Linked DNA regions of Homo sapiens: all the other regions are linked to region 2. The links are contacts of gene promoters, found by promoter capture Hi-C in blood cells and fetal thymus (Javierre and others, 2016). All regions are on one chromosome and are shown on one strand. Each heading gives the region's core, a stretch centred on a gene start or on the middle of the fragment in contact. The rest is flanking DNA. Distances are from core to core; before and after follow the strand shown.

The links. The method cuts DNA at HindIII sites, captures the fragments that hold promoters and counts their contacts. A CHiCAGO score of 5 or more calls a contact.
Region 1: a contact is called between a fragment that was not itself captured here and the fragment with the promoter of ACSM3 in region 2, in 1 of 17 cell types (total B cells). The highest score is 5.7, in total B cells.
Region 3: a contact is called between a fragment that was not itself captured here and the fragment with the promoter of ACSM3 in region 2, in 1 of 17 cell types (total B cells). The highest score is 6.1, in total B cells.

Annotation. Positions count from the first base shown.
Region 1 is chr16:22,187,393-22,190,908 of GRCh38, reverse strand. It overlaps SDR42E2 (short chain dehydrogenase/reductase family 42E, member 2), which reads right to left. Exons shown (of 13, transcript NM_001394319.2): 13 at 1-770. The coding sequence ends at 516. It overlaps LOC124903666 (a long non-coding RNA gene), which reads left to right and starts at 2,897. Exons shown (of 2, transcript XR_007065028.1): 1 at 2,897-2,938. RefSeq lists silencers at 303-402, 543-592, 683-772 and an enhancer at 98-597. The HindIII fragment of the contact is 605 bases long and covers 1,267-1,871 here.
Region 2 is chr16:20,762,115-20,766,026 of GRCh38, reverse strand. It overlaps ACSM3 (acyl-CoA synthetase medium chain family member 3), which reads right to left and starts at 2,013. Exons shown (of 14, transcript NM_005622.4): 1 at 1,902-2,013. RefSeq lists an enhancer at 1,747-1,876. The HindIII fragment of the contact is 1,761 bases long and covers 412-2,172 here.
Region 3 is chr16:22,352,076-22,355,939 of GRCh38, reverse strand. The region is part of intron 2 of CDR2 (cerebellar degeneration related protein 2); the gene reads left to right. Among named protein-coding and RNA genes, the nearest start is that of CDR2, 21 kb to the left of the region's middle. The HindIII fragment of the contact is 554 bases long and covers 2,312-2,865 here.

The sequences.
Region 1 (3,516 bases), core at 320-2,819, 1.4 Mb before region 2:
GGGGGCGGGGAAGAGGCGTGCCCAAGCCGTGAAGCAGGGGCGGGGTTATAAAACGGGGGCGGGGCTAGGTCTGGAGGTCTGCTCAGGGGCTAGGCCAGGAAATCAGTGAGCGGGGAAGAAGGCGTGCCCAATTTGAAGGGCGGGTCAAGGGCGTGGTCAAAACATGGAAAGAGACTCGGGGCTACGCGTCTGGGCCGACCAGGGACGTGGCCAGGATTCAGGGGGCGGAGCAGGAGCGTGCCCACTTCGGAGGGCGGGGCGGGACAGGACAGGGGCGGGGCCAAAACACAGGAAGGGCGCAAGGCAAGGTCTGGGAGTAGATAGGGGCGTGGCCAGAAGTCGGCGGTCCGGGCTAGGTCTGGAGAGCGGCTCGGGGGCGTGACCAGGATTCAAGGGGCGGAGCGGAGGCGCGCTCAAACCCAGAAGGCGGGGCAGGGGCTGGTACAAGCCCAGGGAGCCGGGCGTGGGCGAGGGTGCAGCGGGGCCGACCCTAGCGGGCGGCGGACGGCGGACGGTCACAGGCGCTCCACGGCGGCGTGCAGAGGCTGCAGGCCTAGGAAGTGCAGGGCCAGGGCGAGCAAGCCGAGGAACAGCAGCAGCCTGAGCAGCAGGCGCAGGAGGGTCCGCGCCGTGGAGCCGCGGGGCCGCCGGGTCGTGGACTGCACGTATAGCTCCACGGCGTCGGCGAACCTAAACTTATCCGGCGCGTAGCCGAGCTGGGCGCGGGCCTTGGCTATCTGGAAGGTGTGCGTCACGGCCACGCTGCGCACCTGCGGGGACAGGCGGGGCATCCGAGGGCGGGCCTCGTGGGAGGAGGACATCCTCTACTTCGTTGTTTACGGAAAGGGAAAAGAGAGGGCAGGGATTTCCCCTCCATTACATAGTGATTTAAAAGGACCCGAGTGCAGCGTCTTGCTCCTGCGATGCCCTCATTAGAGAGGTCTTCCTTTCTTCCTTACATGTTCATTTTTATTGGAGGGTGCCGCCTTTGCGTCGCCCCCTCCAGCCCCGCTGAATTCGCACCCTATTTAACTCCTTGGTCCCTAAGAAGCAAAGGTCTCACCCCTACACTCATCTTCCCGGCCTAGCACGGTGCTGGGACTCAGGAGGCCCTTGATACATTCTTAGGCATCCGCTAGGAGAAGGTGAACGCCTGCCAGAAACATCTGCAGGAAACGACCTTGGCTTCCTGCCCCCAACCCCAGACCAACTGTGACCAGGAGGGCCCCAGTCGCAGCCTTCATGCCCTCGCTTATTAACTAAGCTTCCCTAAGAGAGGAATTCGATTATGCAGAACTGATTGCTCTCCAGGGTCTAAGCTGTGTTTCCCCTGCTGCCAGATGGCTTGGGGCCCACTGGTTTGAAGGGTAGTAATGATAGCTATCAGCAGTTAAGGAACACACACCCTGCATTTGGCCTGGACTAAATCCTTTCTATGCCCTACCTCATTTAATCCTCTCAGGTGGTACTAGCACTATCTGTTCTGTGCATACTTGGAAAAAGGTCAGAGAGGTTGAGTGACTTGCCTGGGGTCGCACAGGGGAGCCAGGTTCTAGCCTAATTTCTTCTCTGCTGTGCTGGCACCTGGAGATGTTCTCCCACCTGACTCATTTCTTCCTCTCTTTTTCCTCAGCCGGACCCTGGGGAAGAATCCACCAGCTGCTGGATTCTCCCATGGCATTGAAACAGCCCCTGGGGTCAAACCTGTGGTCTTGGATGCTTAATGGGGGGTGAGGAGAGAGGCCAGTATTTGTCCCTTTTTTTCCTAGTCAGTAAGTGCAGGGCTTTGGGGAGCACAGGAGTTGAGTTACGCTAGATAAGCAGGGTCCCTAATACACCTAGATGTCTCTAGATGTCACCTCTGGGAAGCTTTCTCTGACTTCCTCAGAGTTGGCTGAGGCGCCCCTTCTGTGTGCACTGGAGTTTCTCGCGATTTTCCCAAGAATGGCTCTAATTACAGTGTTGAGTTGCCTGGTTAGTGGGCTGTCTTCCCCTTTGAACTAGGAGCTCCCTAAGGGCAAGGACTATGTCTTCTTGCCTCCGTTGCTCAGCACAGTGCCTGGTAACATTTATGTTAAATGCATAAAAGGCTATAAAGTCAAACTGGAGGGCTGGTTGATGTGTCACAGATTGACCAGCAGAGGGTACCCGAGCCACAGCCAAGGAACTTCCACAGTTAAGGACATTGCCCCTGAGCTGAACAAGGAAATCCCCAAGTTAAACAAGAGGGAGAGGAGCCAAGTCCCTGCCTGACCACAATTCAGCTGCACCCTGGCAGCTATTTTATGTGGATGTGATTCCTGATGCATTTTCACAAGCTAATGGTTAAGCTTGAAATCACTGAGGTCTGGGTTCAAATCCCAGCTCTACCATTTAAGTGAGTGATCACGGGCAGGTTATTTCACTGTGTGTCTCATTTCCTCCTCTCTAAATGGAGAGGACAATGTTGTCTACAACTCAGTTAAATGAGATAAAGCACAGTGCCTGGCATACTGTCACAACTCAAGAGATTGTCAGTATCATCTTATTCTCTCCTCCACTGATCCGGATGGCTCAAAGGAGAAGCCATAGGTGACTACTTCTTTCTGTGGCCCATTCTCCACTCTCCCCCTCTGACTCCCCTTGTTAAAGAGCACTGAACATGGAGTCTGAAGCCAATTCCAGTATGGTGTGGCCTTGGACAAATAATTTTCCTAGTGCTCAATTTTTCATCATAAAATGGAGATCACGATTTTTTTTTGACCTTTTTAACTTAGCAGGGCATCAGAGACAATAAAACGAGAGTGGACTGGAAGTAATTTTTTTTTTTTTTTTAGATGGAGTCTTGTGCTGTCACCCAGGCTGGAGTACAATGGTGTGGTCTCAGCACACTGCAACCTCCACCTTCCAGGTTCAAGCGACTCTTCTGCCTCAGCATCCCGAGTAGCTGGGACTACAGGTATGTGCCACCACACCCAGCTAATTTTTGTATTTTTAGTAGAGACAGGATTTCACTGCGTTGGCCAGGCTGGTCTCAAACTCCTGACCTCAGGTTATCCACCCGCCTCAGCCTCCCAAAGTGCTGGGAACAAGTGTGAGCCACCGTGCCCGACTGGACTGGAAGGATTTTTGCAAATAACCTCAAATACCACCGATTACTTTGCTATTTACAATCTGTGATGAAAACATCCTCTCTTTTAACTAAGCAAATATAAACCTGCATCATCATTATTATGAGAATAGTATTCTGAGCCAGGCATGGTGGTGCATGCCTGTAATCTCAGCTATTTAGAAGGCTGAGGGGGGAGAATCTTTTTTTTTTTTTTTGGTTTTTAGGGGCAGGATCTCCATCTGTTGCCTAGGCTGGAGTACAGTGGTGCAATCTGCAGCCTTGAACTCCTGGGCTCAAGTAATCCCCCACCTGAGCTGGGACTAAAGGCATGCACCACCTTGCCTGGCTAATTTTAAAATTTTTTGTAGAGATGAGGTCTTGCTATGTTGCCCAGGCTGGTCTCAAACTCCTGGCCTCAAGTGATC
Region 2 (3,912 bases), core at 764-3,263:
TGAATTATTTCAGACATAGAGGATACAGGAGGGAATGCAAGAGACAAGGTCCTCCTTGCTCTCATAGAAAGACACATATAGTAAACAAGGGAATAAATAAATGTGATGTTACGCAAGAAAACAAAGAGAGTAATGGGAGAAAAGGGACCTTTTAGGAGGTCTCTCTAGGGACGTAACATTTTTGCTGAGATCTGGCAAGTGGTTGTACTGTTAAGCATTTTGCAGTTATTTATTAGTATTTTCATTTTACAGACAAGGAAGTATACACAAACAGACACACATATTTAAATTGGACAACGCATTTATTCATTACCCGTGTATTTATTGAACACTTGGTATATGCCAGACCTGTACTAAATGCTGAAAATATAGCTGTGAACAAGACACGGCTGGTCTTGCTCCCATGAAGCTTATAGACTATTAAGGAAGACATTAAATAATTATGTAAATATTAATATGATTGGAGATAAATATATCATACTTAGCTTGCTGATTCTGAATAGAATCAGAGTTTAGTATGATTTGTTCCCTAGCTCCCATACAATACTCTACACCACATTCAGAATCCTTCAAACGTATGTTGAAAAGAAAATTGATCAGTCATTTGGAGCTTAAAATGAACCTAACCATTCTGTTCTACCAAAAAGCAAATATCGACATCCTCTTCATCAAAACCATAAGATTACCTTCTCCTCAACAAAGTTCTTTTCCTCCCTTTTCATCGATCTTAGCATTTTACAACTTCTATTTCCCAGGTTTATAAAATTATTTGTAGGTAAAATTGCTGAGATAACTTTCCCAGGGTGACTCCAGATTTTTATACTGAGCCACAGAAACATTGGTAAGGAAAACTCTTCTAAGAAAGACAGTACCACCCCTGGTCAGATAGGCTTCTGAAAGTATTTAAGGTCTCATCTGAAATGCAAGCTCTTTGTCCCTACAGCCAAGGGGGCTTTAGCCTCCCCACAGCTCCCTAAACATCCCTCCCTCTAAGTATCCAAGTAATAACAGTAGTTTAACATATACAGCCTCAACGCAAGGTAAATTCACTGCTGTTGTCTCCAAACCCAACCAGACCCTGCCTGAAGCCCCTCCTATACAGAACTTTTGCAGCTGCCCTTGACCACCTAAAGGAGAAAACTGGCTGCTCTTAGGTTTGCATCTGTGTTTCCCAAAGTTTCCTGGAAGTAATTTACATACTTTCTGGATGATGCAGAAGATGGATTCCCATCTGTCACTGAGCAAGGTGGGGAGCTAAGCAGACAGTACAATGAAAATCTCAGCCACTACCTGGTCTTTTTTTTGAGATGGAGTCTTGTTCTGTCACCCAGGCTGGAGTGCAGTGATGCAATCTCAGCTTACTGCAAACTCCACCTCCCAGGTTCAAGTGACTCTACTGCCTCAGGCTCCCAAGTAGCTGGGGTTACAGGCACCTGCCACCACACCTGGCTAATTTTTTATTTTCAGTAGAGATAGGGTTTCACCATGTTGGCCAAGCTGGTCTCGAACTCCTGGCCTCAAGTGATCTGCATCTGCCCACCATAGCCTCCTAAAGTGGTGGGATTACAGGCTTGAGCCACCGCATCTGGTTCAATTAAAATTAAAAAAAAAATTTATCAACTTAATACATGTACATAGTTTTTCAAAAAATCAAATAGCACCAAAAGGCTCAACATGAAAACTCAGCTGCTACATTTATAGCCTTTTGTGTGTGCATACTCCTCATCACTTAATAGATAGTATCACACAACTGAGAAATTCTGAGAGAAACTTTGGCTGCCCAAGACTTTAATGACAGCATTTTTGATTGTTGGTTTTGTTCATCTGTTTGTTATCTTTGCTCAAAAAACAGATGTGCCAGTTCAGGAAATCTTACACAGGAGGGGAGATGAGGTACTCACTAGTTAACAGATTCCAACACAGATGGAGATTATGGCAGACTTGTTTCTTAGAAGAGCAGCCCTGAACCTTGAGTTCTCACATCTGCTTTTTCCTCGTGGCAGTCTAAAGAAGAGGGAGGAGCAGTCTGACAATCCGGAGGAGCAAGACTGGCCCAAAACACTTTCCTTGATTGGTGGAGACATTCTGGAGGAGGAGCCAAGCTCTGGGCTAAAGTTTACAGGACTCCCAGCGGTTCCTCTTACAGGTAATGATTTACAGAAACAGCAAGCTTTTGAGGGGCGGAGAAAGCAAATTATTAACAAGAAGGAAAGTGTCCAAGGAGTTGCCGAAGTGGTTAGTTCTGTAAAGGGGCAGAGAGAGCACTTCTCAGAAGGAAGAACAGATGGAGGAAGCCATAGAGGAGTTTTGAAATTGAAAGGAAAGAAGTTGAGGGGCGGTTATGGGTTGGCCTAAATCTCATCAAGCCCATTGGTGCGTTTATCTGTCGAAGTGGCAGGACTAAACATAAACGCTATCAGGTTACTCCCCTGCTCAAATCTTTCAGTGCTTCTTTTTCCACTCCAGGTAAAATCCGAGTCCTTACATGAACTGCAAGGAGTTGTATGATCTGGCACAGGGTCCTCTGATCCACAGCCCATTCTCCTTCCTCTGCCTCACTCTGCACAGCCACCGGCCTCCTTGCTTTTTCTCAAACACACTTGCCTGTTTCAGCCTCAGGCTTTCTGAATTCACAGTTTCCACTGACTGGAACTCTTTCCTCAGATATCCCCCTGGCCAAATTCCTCATTTTCTGAGGTGTCTTATTAAATAACTCTTCCCTTACCTCATTTTCTAAAGTAGCACTCTTCATTTTTTCTCTTTTACCATTTTTTAACTTTTTACATCTCTTACTATCACCCTTGAGGGTAAGAACTCTTTTTGTTTGATGGTGTATCTATTGCCTGGAATAGCTACTGGCAAATTTTAGGCATTCAATAAATAGTTGATGGATATGTGAATAAATAAAGGACTCTTTCAATTACATGTGAGAGACCCAACTTTACTTAAAGAGGAATTTGTTGGTCACTTTTGAGTTCTAGGAGTCTTTTGTTGTTGATTCCTTGGGATTTTCTGTGTAATCACATTACCTGTAAATAAGTAAACAGATCTTACTTCTTTCTTTCAGATCTATATGCGTTTTATTTCCTTTTCTTGCCTTATTGCGCAGGCTAGAGTGTCTAGCTCTACGTTGAATAAGAGTGATGAGAGCAGACATCCTTGCCTTGCTTTTGATCTTAGAGGGAAAACATTCAGTCTTTCATGGTTAGGTACAATATTAGTAGTAGGTTTTGTGTAGATGCCCTTTATCAAGTTGAGGAAATTCTCCTCTATTTCTATTTTTTTCTGAGTGTTTTTATCATGAATAGGTGTTGAATTTTGGCAAGTGTTTTTTCTGCATCAGTTACTATAAGCATGTGGTGTTTTTCTTCTTTAGCCTGTTAATAAGATAGATTACACTGATCTTCTAATATTGAACCAGCCTTGCCTCCCTGGAATAAACCTTGCTTGGTCCTGTTGTATATTTCTTTTTCTGTATTGCTGAATTCTATAGTTATGTCTCTTGACAAATTTGAGAACTTTTCAGCTATTATTTCTTGGAGTAAATTTTTAGCCCCCATGTTAGATCTTTTATGATAGTTTCACAGGTCCCTGAGGCTCTGTTCTTTTTTTTCTTTTTTTTCCCATTCTAGTTTCTTTCTTTTGTTCAGGTTGAGTAAATTCTGGCTTCCAGTTCTTTGATTTTTTTCTTCTATTATTTCTATTCTGATGTTAAGCTCATTATTAGAGACAGGGAAAAAACAGTGTTTTTTTTTCTACTCTCACATACCATTCAGCATAATGTTAGCAGTGGTGAATCCATACGGATCTACAATAACTTGATTCTTGCCTCTTCAAAGGAAAGAATTCATCCAAGAGGCATAAGGCAGAGTGAGAGACTGAGGCAAGTTTTTGAGCAGGAGTGAGAGTTTA
Region 3 (3,864 bases), core at 1,339-3,838, 1.6 Mb before region 2:
AGAAAAAATTACGACAAACATAGTATAAAGATCTTAATTAGCTTTTATTTGAGATTCTAAAGTTGGGCAACACCTCATTCTTAGAGAATGAGGGTTTCAATGAGCTGAGCAGAGGAAGTTGGTTTTATAGACAGGGGCTGAGGAAAGCAGAAACAGAAAACAAAAAATGGGTGGTTTCAAAGTTAATTTATTTGTAAAGGTTAAAGCAGAGGGAAGTCCCTTATGCTGGCTAAAACTGGCATGTTTGGGGGCTTGGCTATTATCTCTTCTAATTTCTCAGAAGTCAGATGAACAACTTTGCTTTGGCTTGCTGACATGGAACTTTAGCACAAGTGACTCCATTTTGGTTTGGTTTGTTGGGCCTAGGGCAGGGACTCAGTCCAAACCAGTGGTCTCCTATAAATTTTAACAGATCTATTAGTACTTGAAAGAAATGTCAAATTTCATTTAGAAGTTAACAAAAATGAAGATGTAGCTGTTCAGACCCTTTAAATTCATCCATGTTCACAGACCCTCTAAAGTCTATCCATGGACCCCAGGCTAAGAACTGCTGGCTTAGGTGGAGCAGCCAGGAGAACTGCATCCCCCCGGATAGGGGATCGTAAAGGCATTAGAGGAGGGAGGCACTTGCCTTGCAGTGGGGCAACTCCAAAAAAGGCAAAGATATCTCCCCTAAGTGTGAAATTTTAAAAAAATCAATAGCTAACAAATGAAGCTGGAAAAACCACTTGAGACAATTGGGAAAATATTAATGCTGAAACGTAATAGATGTTAAGGAATTATTGAGTTTTTTTCCCTTAGGAATTGTGGTTAAAATAAAACGTCCTAGAAATGTATGAAGATGTATACTTGAGATGCCTTGGATTAGCTTTAAAATGATTGGAGGACGAGGAAAGTAGGAGAGTAGAGATGAAATAAGATTGGCTGTATGTTGATAATTGTTGAAACTGGTTGATGGGTACGTGGGAGTTCATTAAACCATTTCTCTGCATGTATATATGTTTGAGATTATCCACAATAGAAAGTTTTATTTATTTATTTATTTTTAGACATAGTCTCACTCTGTCGCCCAGGCTGGAGTGCAATGGTGTGATCTTATCTCACTGCAACCTTTGCCTCCTGGGTTCAAGTGATTCTCATGCCTCAGCCTCCCAAGTAGCTGGGACTACAGGCGTGTGCCACCATGCCTAACTAATTTTTTTTTTTTTTTTTTAAGTAGAGATGGAGTTTCACCATGTTGGCCAGGCTGGTCTCGAACTCCTGTCCTCAAGTGATCCACCCGCCTTGGCCTCCCAAAGTGCTGGGATTACAGGCATGAGCCACCACACCTGGTCCACAATAGAAAGTTTTAAAATGCAGTGGATAAGATTAGCCATCTGTAGAAATTCAGTATTTGTTTGGACTGAGAAGTTAGGAAGGATCACTCAAGCAAGGTTAAGGTAACTAGTTTGTAATTTCAGGGAATTAATGATTGTTAAGAACATACCAAAGTGAAGCGTTATGATGATGAATGCTGCTGTGGTACAGTTAAAATATAACCTAATCTTAGTGGATAACTGCATCTAAGCTGAGCCCTATGCAGGGAGACGGTGAGCATTAAGCTGAAGAGTCATCATTGATCCAGTGAATGCCTGTGTCTCCTAGACCCAAGAGAAAAGGACATTGGTCAGGGCAGGGGACGTCCAGGATTTTCCATGTCCAAGATCAACATTTCTCTAAGTGTGATCTCTGGACTGCCTGTACTAATATCACCTGGGTTTGTTGCTAAAAATGCAGAATCCTGGCTCTACTCCAGTCTCAGCCGTTTGAGGGGAAGGGACCCAGGTTCTTACACTTTAATAAATCTTCTTCCAGGTGAATCTTAGCACATGTAAAGTTTGAAAACTGTAGCTTTAAATAAAGATGACAGTAGCTTCTCCTTATTGAGCAATTTACCATCTGCCAGATCTCATGCTGAGCTCTCTACATATATTAACGTTTTTGTAAATTATATATTTGTATATGTCAGGGAGGAAAAATATTTTTTTCCTCAACCTTCATGAGTGCTTAGTTGGAAAGGACCCCTGCAACAAAAGACAGATTAACAAGAGAAAAACAAGCTTACTAACATATCTATTTCATTTATATGTGTGGGAGATACCCAGGGGATGAGTCATTCTCAGAGGTGGCTTTGAATTCCAGCTTATGTAGTATCTTCAACAAAGAATGGTAATTTTTTAGAGAAGTGACAAGACAAAGGGGAAGAACTTTGTCTAGGGGCAGAACTTGTGGGAAGGCAAGTAAGTGGTGATAAAGGCCCGTTAGCAAAGCTTGTTAGTGTGGATTCCTCTGGTGCTGTCTTCTGGCCCATAAAGGTCTAAAGTTGTTAGTGGTTAACCTTTGTTCTCCCTGGTAGAGAGGGAGGAGGCAGGAACCTTTTTATGCCAAAGACGCATGCTTTGGGGTGACATAGTCCAGTCTCTCCCACACACATATTTATCTTTACAGCCTTATGAAGTAGTTGATGAGGAGAACTCACATTAGAAAAATGTGCTTGCTGTAGGTTACCCAGTTCTAAACAGCAAAGCAAGACCTCAAACCAGGTTCTGACTCCAAAGCCTGTGCTCTTAGCTACTATACCACTGCCTCCCATCAGACTCCTCTGATCCCATGTCTACCAGAGACTCTCATTCATGAATCGGCCTTTCACATGCCCTTTGTGGGGCAGCTGTGTCCTAATAGAGGATGTGAATATTCTTGTCACTGGGCAGGAACAGTTCCTGTTGTATATTAATAAATTAATGTCTGGCTTATGCATTAGCCTTTTTAAAGGTAGTTCTGAGTCCTAAAGAATACTTGATAATTTATACTTGATATAAAGAAGCTTGAAACATTTCTGCAGCTATTATATATATATTCTTGTGATTCTAAGCCTTTTTTCCGCTCCTGTGGAATCTCATCAATTCCTAAGAGATTGAACATGTTCCCATCAATGACAAGAACCTACTATGGAATTACTAGCCCGAGGGCAGGATTAAGGGCCTACTCCTTTAGTTCTGAGAAAGCTTCACGCATGAGAATTAGTGGTTGATTTCCAAAGGACCAGAAGAAGCTGGTGGGAGTTGAGGCAGTGAAGACTACACACAGGCTTTTATAGACCGTGCCATGTGCTCACCTTTCTCATTTAATTCTGCCAGTTCTACATGGTAGGTACTAACAGATCCACTTACTAATTCCGAACTCAAAAAGCTCTATAAAGCAAGATTTTTTTTTTCCCCTTAAATTTGCAACAGATTCATTTGGTAGTAGATCTTTACCTGAACTGATGTGAGGCTGTTTATAGTCTTAGTTCATACTTTTTGATGCAGAAATATTAATGCTTGATTACAGGGTGCTGCCCAGACCTCACAGGTATTATAAGGTGTCAGCTGTGTGTCAGGTATGAGCGCCATGTTGTCTTTCTAAAATTTAAAGAATTTTCCAAAACACTTTTGACTTCAAGAGTTTCAGATGAGAAAGTTGAAGTTAGGTTAAGTGTTTGTTCAACTCTTTGCTGCTGAGTTATGTAAATGGATTTGAAAAAAAAAAAGCCATATATGCTTTTTTCAACACTTTAAGGGCCCGTTGAGTGTCATTTAGCCCATTGTTTGTTAGCCTTGCAAATCCTTCTAGAGTTGTAGAAAAAGCCTCAAGAAGAGTGTGTTGTGTTGTGTTTGAGACAGTCTCTGTCACCCAGGCTGTAGTGCAGTGGCACGATCTCGGTTCACTGCAACGTTCACCTCCCACGTTCAAAAGATTCTCATGCCTCAGCCTCCTGAGTACGTGGGATTACAGGCGCGTGCCACCACGCCGGACTAATTTTTGTATTTTTATTAGAGGTGGGTT